Linked DNA regions of Homo sapiens: regions 1 and 2 are each linked to region 3. Evidence: promoter capture Hi-C in human tissues and cell types (Jung and others, 2019). All regions are on one chromosome and are shown on one strand. Each heading gives the region's core, a stretch centred on a gene start or on the middle of the fragment in contact. The rest is flanking DNA. Distances are from core to core; before and after follow the strand shown. Region 1 holds the start of KRTAP5-1 (keratin associated protein 5-1). Region 2 holds the start of BRSK2 (BR serine/threonine kinase 2). Region 3 has its middle 7.5 kb from the start of MOB2.

The links. The method cuts DNA at HindIII sites, captures the fragments that hold promoters and counts their contacts. A contact is called where the count stands out against the background at its distance.
Region 1: a contact is called between the fragment with the promoter of KRTAP5-1 here and a fragment that was not itself captured in region 3, in 6 of the 25 tissues and cell types used here (adrenal gland, bladder, dorsolateral prefrontal cortex and 3 more).
Region 2: the fragment with the promoter of BRSK2 here is called in contact with a fragment that was not itself captured in region 3 in 8 of the 25 tissues and cell types used here (H1 embryonic stem cells, dorsolateral prefrontal cortex, liver and 5 more).

What each region holds. Positions count from the first base shown.
Region 1 is chr11:1,583,691-1,586,713 of GRCh38, forward strand. KRTAP5-1 (keratin associated protein 5-1) reads right to left here and starts at 1,593. Exons shown (of 1, transcript NM_001005922.1): 1 at 652-1,593. The coding sequence starts at 1,559. The coding sequence ends at 723. All of the region lies in intron 1 of KRTAP5-AS1 (KRTAP5-1/KRTAP5-2 antisense RNA 1), which reads left to right. The HindIII fragment of the contact is 15,838 bases long and covers 1-3,023 here.
Region 2 is chr11:1,388,394-1,391,466 of GRCh38, forward strand. It overlaps BRSK2 (BR serine/threonine kinase 2), which reads left to right and starts at 1,541. Exons shown (of 20, transcript NM_001256627.2): 1 at 1,541-1,982. The coding sequence starts at 1,892. RefSeq lists a silencer at 938-1,307. The HindIII fragment of the contact is 11,739 bases long and covers 1-3,073 here.
Region 3 is chr11:1,492,854-1,495,614 of GRCh38, forward strand. No RefSeq gene overlaps it. Among named protein-coding and RNA genes, the nearest start is that of MOB2, 7.5 kb to the left of the region's middle. The HindIII fragment of the contact is 6,425 bases long and covers 1-2,761 here.

The DNA of each region.
Region 1 (3,023 bases), core at 343-2,842, 91 kb after region 3:
ATTGCTTTTGCCTGATCAAGGCAAGGCACCCCCGCCCTGAGCCAGATGCTGAGAGGGTGTGGTAGAGGCTGCACGGCAAGGGGCTGAGCCAGGTGGCTGCTGGTGCTCCTGCCTCTGACCGCCACCATGTATCCAGGATCCCTGCTGGCCAGGGCGCCCACCTGCCTGCTCCGGTTTGGTTCAGGGCCGGTGTGTGTGTGTGTGTGTGTGTGTGTGTGTGTGTGTGTGGTTCCCAGGGGACCCAGTGTAGCCACAGATGCCCCCCACCTGCCTCGAGAGGGAAATAAACATAAATATACCAAGACAGCTATGGGGTGCTGGGGTGAGCGGTTTATTGGATGTTTAAAGGACAGAGATCTGAACTCCTAGTGACTGCAGAGTGAGCAAGCACCCTGGGCTGTCCTGCAGGGCTGTCCGTGCTGGATGTGGTGCCAGCAGGCAGGGCTTGCGGATAGGCATTTGCTGCAGGTGGCTGGGGCGGTGGGGGGCTGGTCTCCAGATGCCTGGAAGGGAGGCCTTGAAAGTCATTCTTCTTGGATGCATGGGCCCATGGCATTTCTTGGTAGAAGGTCAAAGAGAAGTGTTCATGCTTGGCAAGGCAGGAGGGTGGGAGATAGGGTAGTGGGTGGGGAAGGAGAGTCTGGCTCACTGGGTGCCAGGAAAAGGAGGTAAAGGCTGGGCAGGAATGCCTGGCCATGGTAAGAGTCCTGCAAAGCCAGAAATCAGATCTTGCACTGGCAGCACACGGGGACACAGCAACTGGACTGGGAGCAGCAGGGCTTGCAGCAGCTGGATTGGCAACAGGATGACCCACAGCCTGAGGAACAGCAGCAGGGCTTACAGCAACTGCACTGGGAGCAGGATGACCCGCAGCCTCCCTTAGACCCCGCGCAAGAGCCACAACTGGAACAGGAACAGCAACACACGGGCACACCGCAGCCGGAGCCACAGCCCCCACAGCCGGAGCCACAACCCCCCTTGGATCCCCCACAAGAACCGCAGCCCCCCTTGCAGCCTCCACAGGAGCCACAGCCCCCCTTGGAGCCCCCACAAGAACCACAGGCCCCCTTGGAGCACCCACAGGAGCCACAGCCCCCTTTGCCACAGCTGGAGCAGGAACAAGCTGGCACACAGCAGCACATGGGCTTGCAGCAGCAGACAGGCACACAGCAGCTGGAGCCACATCCCCCACAGCCGGAACCACAGCCACCCTTGGATCCCCCACAAGAGCCACAGCCCCCCTTGGAGCCCCCACAGGAGCCACAACCCCCCTTGGATCCCCCACAAGAGCCACAGCCCCCCTTGCAGCCTCCACAGGAGCCACAGCCCCCCTTGGAGCCCCCAGAAGAGCCACAGCCCCCTTTGCCACAGCTGGAGCAGGAACAGGTTGGCACACGGCAGCACACGGGCTTGCAGCAGCAGACGGGCACACAGCAGCTGGAGCCAGAACCTCCACAGCCAGAGCCACAGCCCCCACAGCCGGAGCCACAGCCCCCACAGCCGGAGCCACAGCCCCCACAGCTGGAGCCACAGCCTCCGGAGCAGCCGCAACAGCCCATGGTTCTGGTGGATTGAGGGTGGAGCAGGTAGAGGAGCAGGTGAGAGGGAGGTGCAGGTGTGGAGCTCCCTGAGCCTGGACCCTTTATATCCCTGCCCAGGGTCATGTGTGAGGCTGGGCACACATTTCCTGGTTCCTGTTTGTGCCATTTTTAGGGCCCCTTTTTCTTGTTTCCTCTAGAAATCCGCCCCTTGGTGTATGGGCTGCTCAGTGGGCTGCTGCTCTCTTGCTGAATCTGTGTCCAGACTTAATGGAGGCCCCCAAGGGTCTAGCCTCTCCCTGTTGACTCCAGAGTCACACTGGATTTACAAAAGCATCTATTTTAGGCTGGGCATGGTGGCTCACACCTGTAATCTCAGCACTTTGGGAGGCCTAGGCAGGTGGATCACTTGAGGTGAGGGGTTGGAGACCAGCCTGGCCAAAATGGTGAAATCTCGTGTCTACTAAAAACACAAAAATTAACTGGGTGTGGTGGCTCACATCTGTAATCCCAGCACTTTGGGAGGCCGAGGCAGGTGGATCATTTGAGGTCAGGAGTTGGAGACCAGCCTGCCCAACATGGCAAAACCCCATCTCTACTAAAAATACAAAAATTAGCCAGGCATGGTGGTGCATGCTTGTAACTCCAGCTACTTGGGAGGCTGAGGCAGGAGAATGGCTTGAACCCAGAGGTGAAGGTTGCAGTGAGCAGAGATCACACCACTGCACTCTAGTGTGGGCAACAGAGCGGGACTCTGTCTCAAAAAAAAAAAAAAAGTGATCTATTTTAGTTGAACGATGGTATAAAGAGTAATATATTTAAAAAATGTAAAAAAAAACCCTACTCAACTTGGGAAAAAATGGCATAAATAAATGAAGTCTCTGTTCCTCCATCTCTCCATATTGTTTCTGTCCCACCCTAATAATTTCTTGAATTTGGAATTCACCACTCTCATGAAGGTCCTCACACTCCTACTTAATATGTATGTTCCTTTAAAAATGTTTTGTGGCCAGGCGCGGTGGCTCACACCTGTAATTTCAGCACTTTGGGAGGCTGAGGTGGGCGGATCATTTGAGTCCAGGAGTTTGAGACCAGCCTCACTAACATGGTGAAACCTCGTCTTTACTAAAAATACAAAAATTAACCAGGTATGGTGGCATGTGCCTGTAATCCCAGCTATTCGGGAGGCTGAGGCAGGAGAATCGCTTGAACCTGGGAGGCAGTGGTTGCAGTGAGCTGAAATCACGCCATTGCACTCCAGCCTGGGCAACAGAGTGAGACTCTATCTCAAAAAAAAAAAAAAAAAAAGAAAAGAAAAAAGAAAAAAAAATTTTACATGCTGAAAACTTTATGTAATGGGTATTACACTGTATTTCTCTTTCTGTAAATTGCTTTTGAAAAAAATAGGTGTTAGGCTAAAGAGATTTTCTCTAGGGATACATATGGTTTTAATTTATTTGTTTTCTCTGATTTCTAAATATACAT
Region 2 (3,073 bases), core at 291-2,790, 100 kb before region 3:
GCTCAGAGGCCCCAGAATTGGGTAGGGAGGACCCTTAGTCCACAGCATTTGAAGGGAAGCAGGGCGGGCGGGTGCAGGCCGAGAGTGGACAGGTGCTTTGGGGCCCACTCCCCTCCCCAGCTGGAAATACAGACAGCCCAAAGAGCAGGAGGGCGCACTGGGAAGACCCCGCAGTTTCCTGAGCTCATACGGGCTTACCAGCGTGGGGAGCGGACCACGGTCAGCAGCAGTGTGTGGCAGAGCCCGCAGGGGAAACGTTGCCCGCAGACCATACACGGGCAAGATCTGGGACCCCCACTTCTGCAGCGTTCCGGGTCTCCCTCACCTCTCCCCTCCCACCACCTTCTGCAGCACGGGCTTAAGGAAATACCAGTGTTTTTCTGCAAAGAAACAGAGGGTCCGTCCAGGTCTGGCTGCCTCTTCGGCTGCCTGTGTTTAGACCTCCAAAGGCTGCTCCCGGCAACCCCTGCCCAGCTGCTCAACCTGAAAGAGGGGTCGGTAGCAAGGGCCGGGAGGCGCCAGGGCGCTGCGGCCGGATCCCAGGTGAGTTCCTTGACTCCGCGCCGCGCAGGTCACTGTGGCATAACTGGGAAAACCGCCGCTTCTCCCTCGGGAGCGGAGGCGGAGGGCCACGTCCTCCCTGGGGGTGCACAATCTCTGCTTGGACAACGCCCGCGTGCAGTAGCCCCACAGACTCCCATGCAGCCCCCCCGCCACGTGTGCCGCATCCGCGCCCTGCATGCAACACCCGCCCCCTCCAGCGCAGCATGCCCCTCGCTGGCGTGCAGCACCCCCCATGTGTGCAGCACCCCTGCCCCGAATACAGCACCTCTCCCCAGTACAGCACTCCCGCCCCGCATGCAACACTCGCCCCCCTCCAGGGCAGCATCCCCATCCCCCGCGCGTGCAGCACCCCCTCGAGGGGCGGGAAACTCTTTGGGACACCCGGGGTCACGCCCTGCAGGGTAAAACCCCCGTCCAGGGCAGCCATCTGCACCCCCTCGCCATGGGCCCACTGCCTGCTCCGTCCCGGGATGCGCCTTAATGGCGGGTCGGGCGGCAGCGGGAGCTCTGCTGCCTGGTGGGACCGGACGTGGCAGCCGGCGGGCTGGAGGCTCCCAGGTCCCGGCCTCGCCCTGGCCTCGCCTCGCCCCCTAGAGTCTCCCCGAGCGCTCGTAGCGGCGGGGCGGGGTGGGGAGGCGCTGATTGGCCGGCGCGGGCACCGCTTGCCGCCGCCACGGCATCCCGCTGCGTTCGTACAGGCTCGTGTCGACTCGGCTCCGTTGCGCGGCCCGGCTCGGCTCCCCTCAGCTGCGCTCGACTCCGCTGTTCGGCTCGGCTGTTCGGCTTGGCTACAGGGCTCGGCTGTTCGGCTTGGCTACATGGCTCGGCTGCGCGGCTCGGCTCTGTTCGGCTCGGCTCGGCTGCTGGGCTCGGCTGTTCGGCTCAGCTGCGCGGCTCGGCTCGTCTCGGCTCTGTTCGGCTCGGCTCGGCTGCTGGGCTCGGCTGTTCGGCTCAGCTGCACGGCTCGGCTCGGCTCGGCTCGGCTCGGCTGCGCGGCCGCTGACGGGCGTGCGCTGGGGGCGCGGGGCGCGGGGCGCGGGCCTCGGCGGCGGCGGCGGCGGCGGCGGCGGAAGCCAGGTGCCCCCGCCCGCCCTGTCCTCTCGACGAGGCGGAGGCGTCGCCGCGGGCCAGGCCTCGGACTGCCGCGTCGGAGTGGACGCGGGGGGCGGCGGCGCGGGCGGACGCGGGCGGCGCGAAGCAGCGGGGCCCGCGGGGGCGCCCCGGCCGGGTCGGCGCGGACGGCACTCGGCGGACGCGGGCGGACGCTGGGCGGCCCCTCCCTGCCCGCGCGCCCGGGCGCCCCTGGCCGGCGCCGGGCCCCAGAGCGATGACATCGACGGGGAAGGACGGCGGCGCGCAGCACGCGCAGTATGTTGGGCCCTACCGGCTGGAGAAGACGCTGGGCAAGGGGCAGACAGGTGCGTGCGGCCGGGGCGGGGACCGGGGCCGGGGAGGCCGCGCTGGCAGCGCGCTGGGTGGGGGGCGCCCGAGGGAGGCCCCGGCCGCGAAGCCGCAGGCCCGGCCCGGGCCCCGGCCGCGAACAATGGGCGGCCCGTGCGCCCCCGTCCGCTCGTGCGCCCCGGTTCCGCCGCGGATCCCGCAGGCCGCTTGGCTGCGGTCGGCCGGGCGCGGCCCAAGGACACGCGGCGCGGCGCGGGGCGCGCAGGCGGACAGGGGCGCACGGGACGGCGCCCCTCGGGCCCCGCTGCAGGTGCGCGGCCCGGGCCGCATTGTGCGCCCCAGCGACCGGGCCCATTGTGCCGCGGGAGGAGGGGGCCGCGCGGGCGCCCATCTGCCGTCTGCCGCGGCCGCGCTAATAGGCGTGCTGCCCGAGCAGCTGCGCCCCCGGCGGGACTCCCACCTCCGCGCGCCGGCCACCGGGGCCTCCGGGCAGGCCCGATCTCCCTCCGCGGTGGGGGCGGGAGAGTGCGGGGACCTGCAGAGGGCTGGACAGCGCCTTGCGCTGCTCCGGCTCGGGCTCGGGCGGGCGGAGCGTCTGTGACCTGCATTCCCACGGGGCAGGGAGAGGCCATTGGTGCTGGGACCAGAAGTGCGTGGGACCTGACCCGTGGAGCAGCCCCGCGGCCTGCCGGTGGAGGGGGCTTCCCGGTGGGGCCTGGCTGTCATTCTAGGGAACAGGCCGGGTCCCTGCGGGGCCGAACCCAGGCCAGAGGCAACCCAGCTACCCTCGCATGTGGCCAACTCTCCCCGGCCCGCTGGGTTTGGCTAGCCCTTCATCTGGTCAGGCACATTCACAGAGTCGCCTTTGTGGAGGCTGGGGCTCAGCCATTTTCTTTCTTCTCTCAGGACCGGCCTGTCTCTTGGTGTCCCCGAGGTCCCACGGCACTGCCTCTCCCTTCCAATCCGAGAAGTTCCTTAGACCCGGGCGGGCAGGGGTGGAGGGAAGGAGGAGGAGAGCGCTGGTGCAGGGTGGAGGCTCAGCCCCTCACGGCTGCACAGAGGAGGAGCTGGGAGGTGGCGTTGGGGAAAGAAAGTGGGCCAGGCCCAG
Region 3 (2,761 bases), core at 47-2,546:
CCAGACTGGAGACACCTTGGGCGAATAGATTTAACAGAGATTCCACAATGGCTGTGCCATGGGGACTGGGCTACAATAGCCCAGAGTGAGGGGGTTCTCTGGACCTGGCATAATAAAGCTTAAAAACAAGCCTCAAACGGATCCTAGCTAACCAAGAGCAAATTAACTGCCTTCCAGAACAAACCACACTACTCTTTAAGGGAGGAAAACAGAACTGAGACTTTCAACAACATTGCTACCACAATACCTAGTGTACAAAAAAATTACTAGACAGGTGAAGCAGAAAAATGTAACTCATAACCAGGAAAAATAAGTCAACAGAAACAGGCCTAGAGATAACAAAGATAATGAAAGTAACAAACAAAGACTTTAAAAGAATGAAATAAATATATTCAACGATTTATTTATTTATTTAGACAGTGTCCTCTATTGCCCGGGCTGGAGTGCAGTGGCACAATCTCGGCTCACTGCAACCTCTGTCTCCCAAGTGATTCTCCTGCCTCAGCCTCCAGAGCAGCTGGGATTACAGGCGAACGCCACCAAGCACAGCTAATTTTTGTATTTTTGTAGAGATGAGGTTTCACCATGTTGGCTACGCTGGTCTCAAACTCCTCACCTAAAGTAATCTGTCCGCCTTGGCCTCCCAAAAGTGCTGGGATTACTGGCATGAGACATTGTGCCCGGCCAATATATCCAAAGATTTAGAGGAAAGGTTGGACATAATCAACAAAGCAATTAGGGCTCTGAAAAAATCGGAAACTCCACAAAATAATAAACAAAAATTCCTGGAACTGAAGAATACATCGAAAATGAAATTTTTGAGATGAAATGAACATCAGATTAAACAGTGCTAAAGAGAAGATTACAATAAAAACATCACTTATAAAAATGTGTAGAATGCAGCTAAAGCTCAGCTGAGGAAGAAATTTATAAATGTTCATATTAGGAGAGAAGGCTTAAAATGAGTGATTCATACATCCACCTTCAGAAGCCAGAAAAAGGAAGTGCATATTAAATGCAAAGTGGAAGGAAATAACAGAAATCTATGAAATGAAAAATAGACAAATAATGAAGAATTAAACACAAAGTTAGCCTGGAAAACTTAAAAAAAAAAAAAGATCAATTTCCCAAGCAGACTAAGCAGAAAAGAGACAGAGAGCCAAGAGAGGAAGAGGGCATAAATTACCGATATCAGAAATGAAAGGGACATTCCTACAGATCCTACAGATATTAAGCGGGTAACAAAGCACTATAAGGAACTGAATGCCAAGAGAAAATGTAGATGAAACAGACAAATTTTTCACAAACACAAGCTACCAAAACTGACATACAAAGAAGTAGAAAATCTGAATTTATAATTAAAAATCTTTCTACAAGGAAATGGTGGGTGCAGGTGGCTTACGGATGAACTCTACACACGATATAAGTAAGAAATAATACAAACCATACACATACTCTTTCAGAAAACAGAGGAGGAGGACCAGCATAATGCTGCTGCCAAAGTGAGACAACAGCATTCCTAGAAAAGGGAAATTACAGCCCAATATCCTTCATGAATGTGGATGCAAAACTCTGTAATAAAATAGTAACAAACTAATTCAACAACGTATTGAAAGGATAATACAGCATAGCCAAGAGAGATTCACCCAGTAATGTAAGCTTAGCTAACACCTGAAAATCAATGTCATTCACCACATTAATGAAAGGAGAAAAAAATATGGCCATCTCAATTAGATGCAGACACAGCACATGGCAAAACGTGTATGCAAACTCTCAGCAAACCAGGAACAGAAGGGACCATCCTCAGCTGAGAAAGGACACCTATAAAAAATCTGAAGCTAACATCAAATGCTGCTGATGGAGTAAAGATTTTCCCCCTAAAATCAGAAACAAGGAAGGGGCTCTGAGCACTTCTCACTCTCACCACTCTTATTCGGTGTCACTCTTATACCAGCGGCACAATGAGGCCACTGTAATGAGGCAAGACAAAGGTATACAAGGCATAAATACTGGAAAGGAAAAGGTCGTCTTGTTTGGCAGGTAACATGGTTATGTAAACAGAAAAGTCTAAGGAAACTGGGGCAAGTCTGCTAGAACTAATAAGTAAATTTAGTGGCATCACAGGGCACAAGGTCAGTAAAGAAAATTAATTTTATTCCTATATAATAGCAACAAATAAATGGAAAATACAATTATAAAACTGCTATTTACAATATAATTTTTAAATTTAGGAATAATCTTAACACAAATGTACAAAGCCTCTCACTGAAAAGCACAAAACAATGCTGAGAAAAATTAAAGACCTAAACACATAAAAAAATTTGCCATGGCCATGGATTAGAAGACTCAATATTGTTAAGATGTCAATTTTCTTAATTAAATACAATCCTATCAAAATCCCGGGATAATTTCTTATTTTTAAAAGAAATTAACAAGAAGATTCTTGGTTTTTTGTTTGTTTTTTGTTTGTTTGTTTTGAGACGGAGTTTCACTCTTCTTACCCAGGCTAGAGTGCAATGGCACAATCTCAGCTCACTGCAACCTCTGCCTCCCGGGTTCAAGTGATTCTCCTGTCTCAGCCTCCTCAGTAGCTGGGATTACAGGCACCCGCCACCATACCCAGCTAATTTTTGGTATTTTTAGTAGAGACGGGGTTTCACCATGTTGGCCAGGCTGGTCTCGAACTCCTGACCTCAGGTGATCTGCCCACCTCAGCCTCGCAAAGTGCCGGGATTACAAGCATGAGCCACCACGCCCGGCC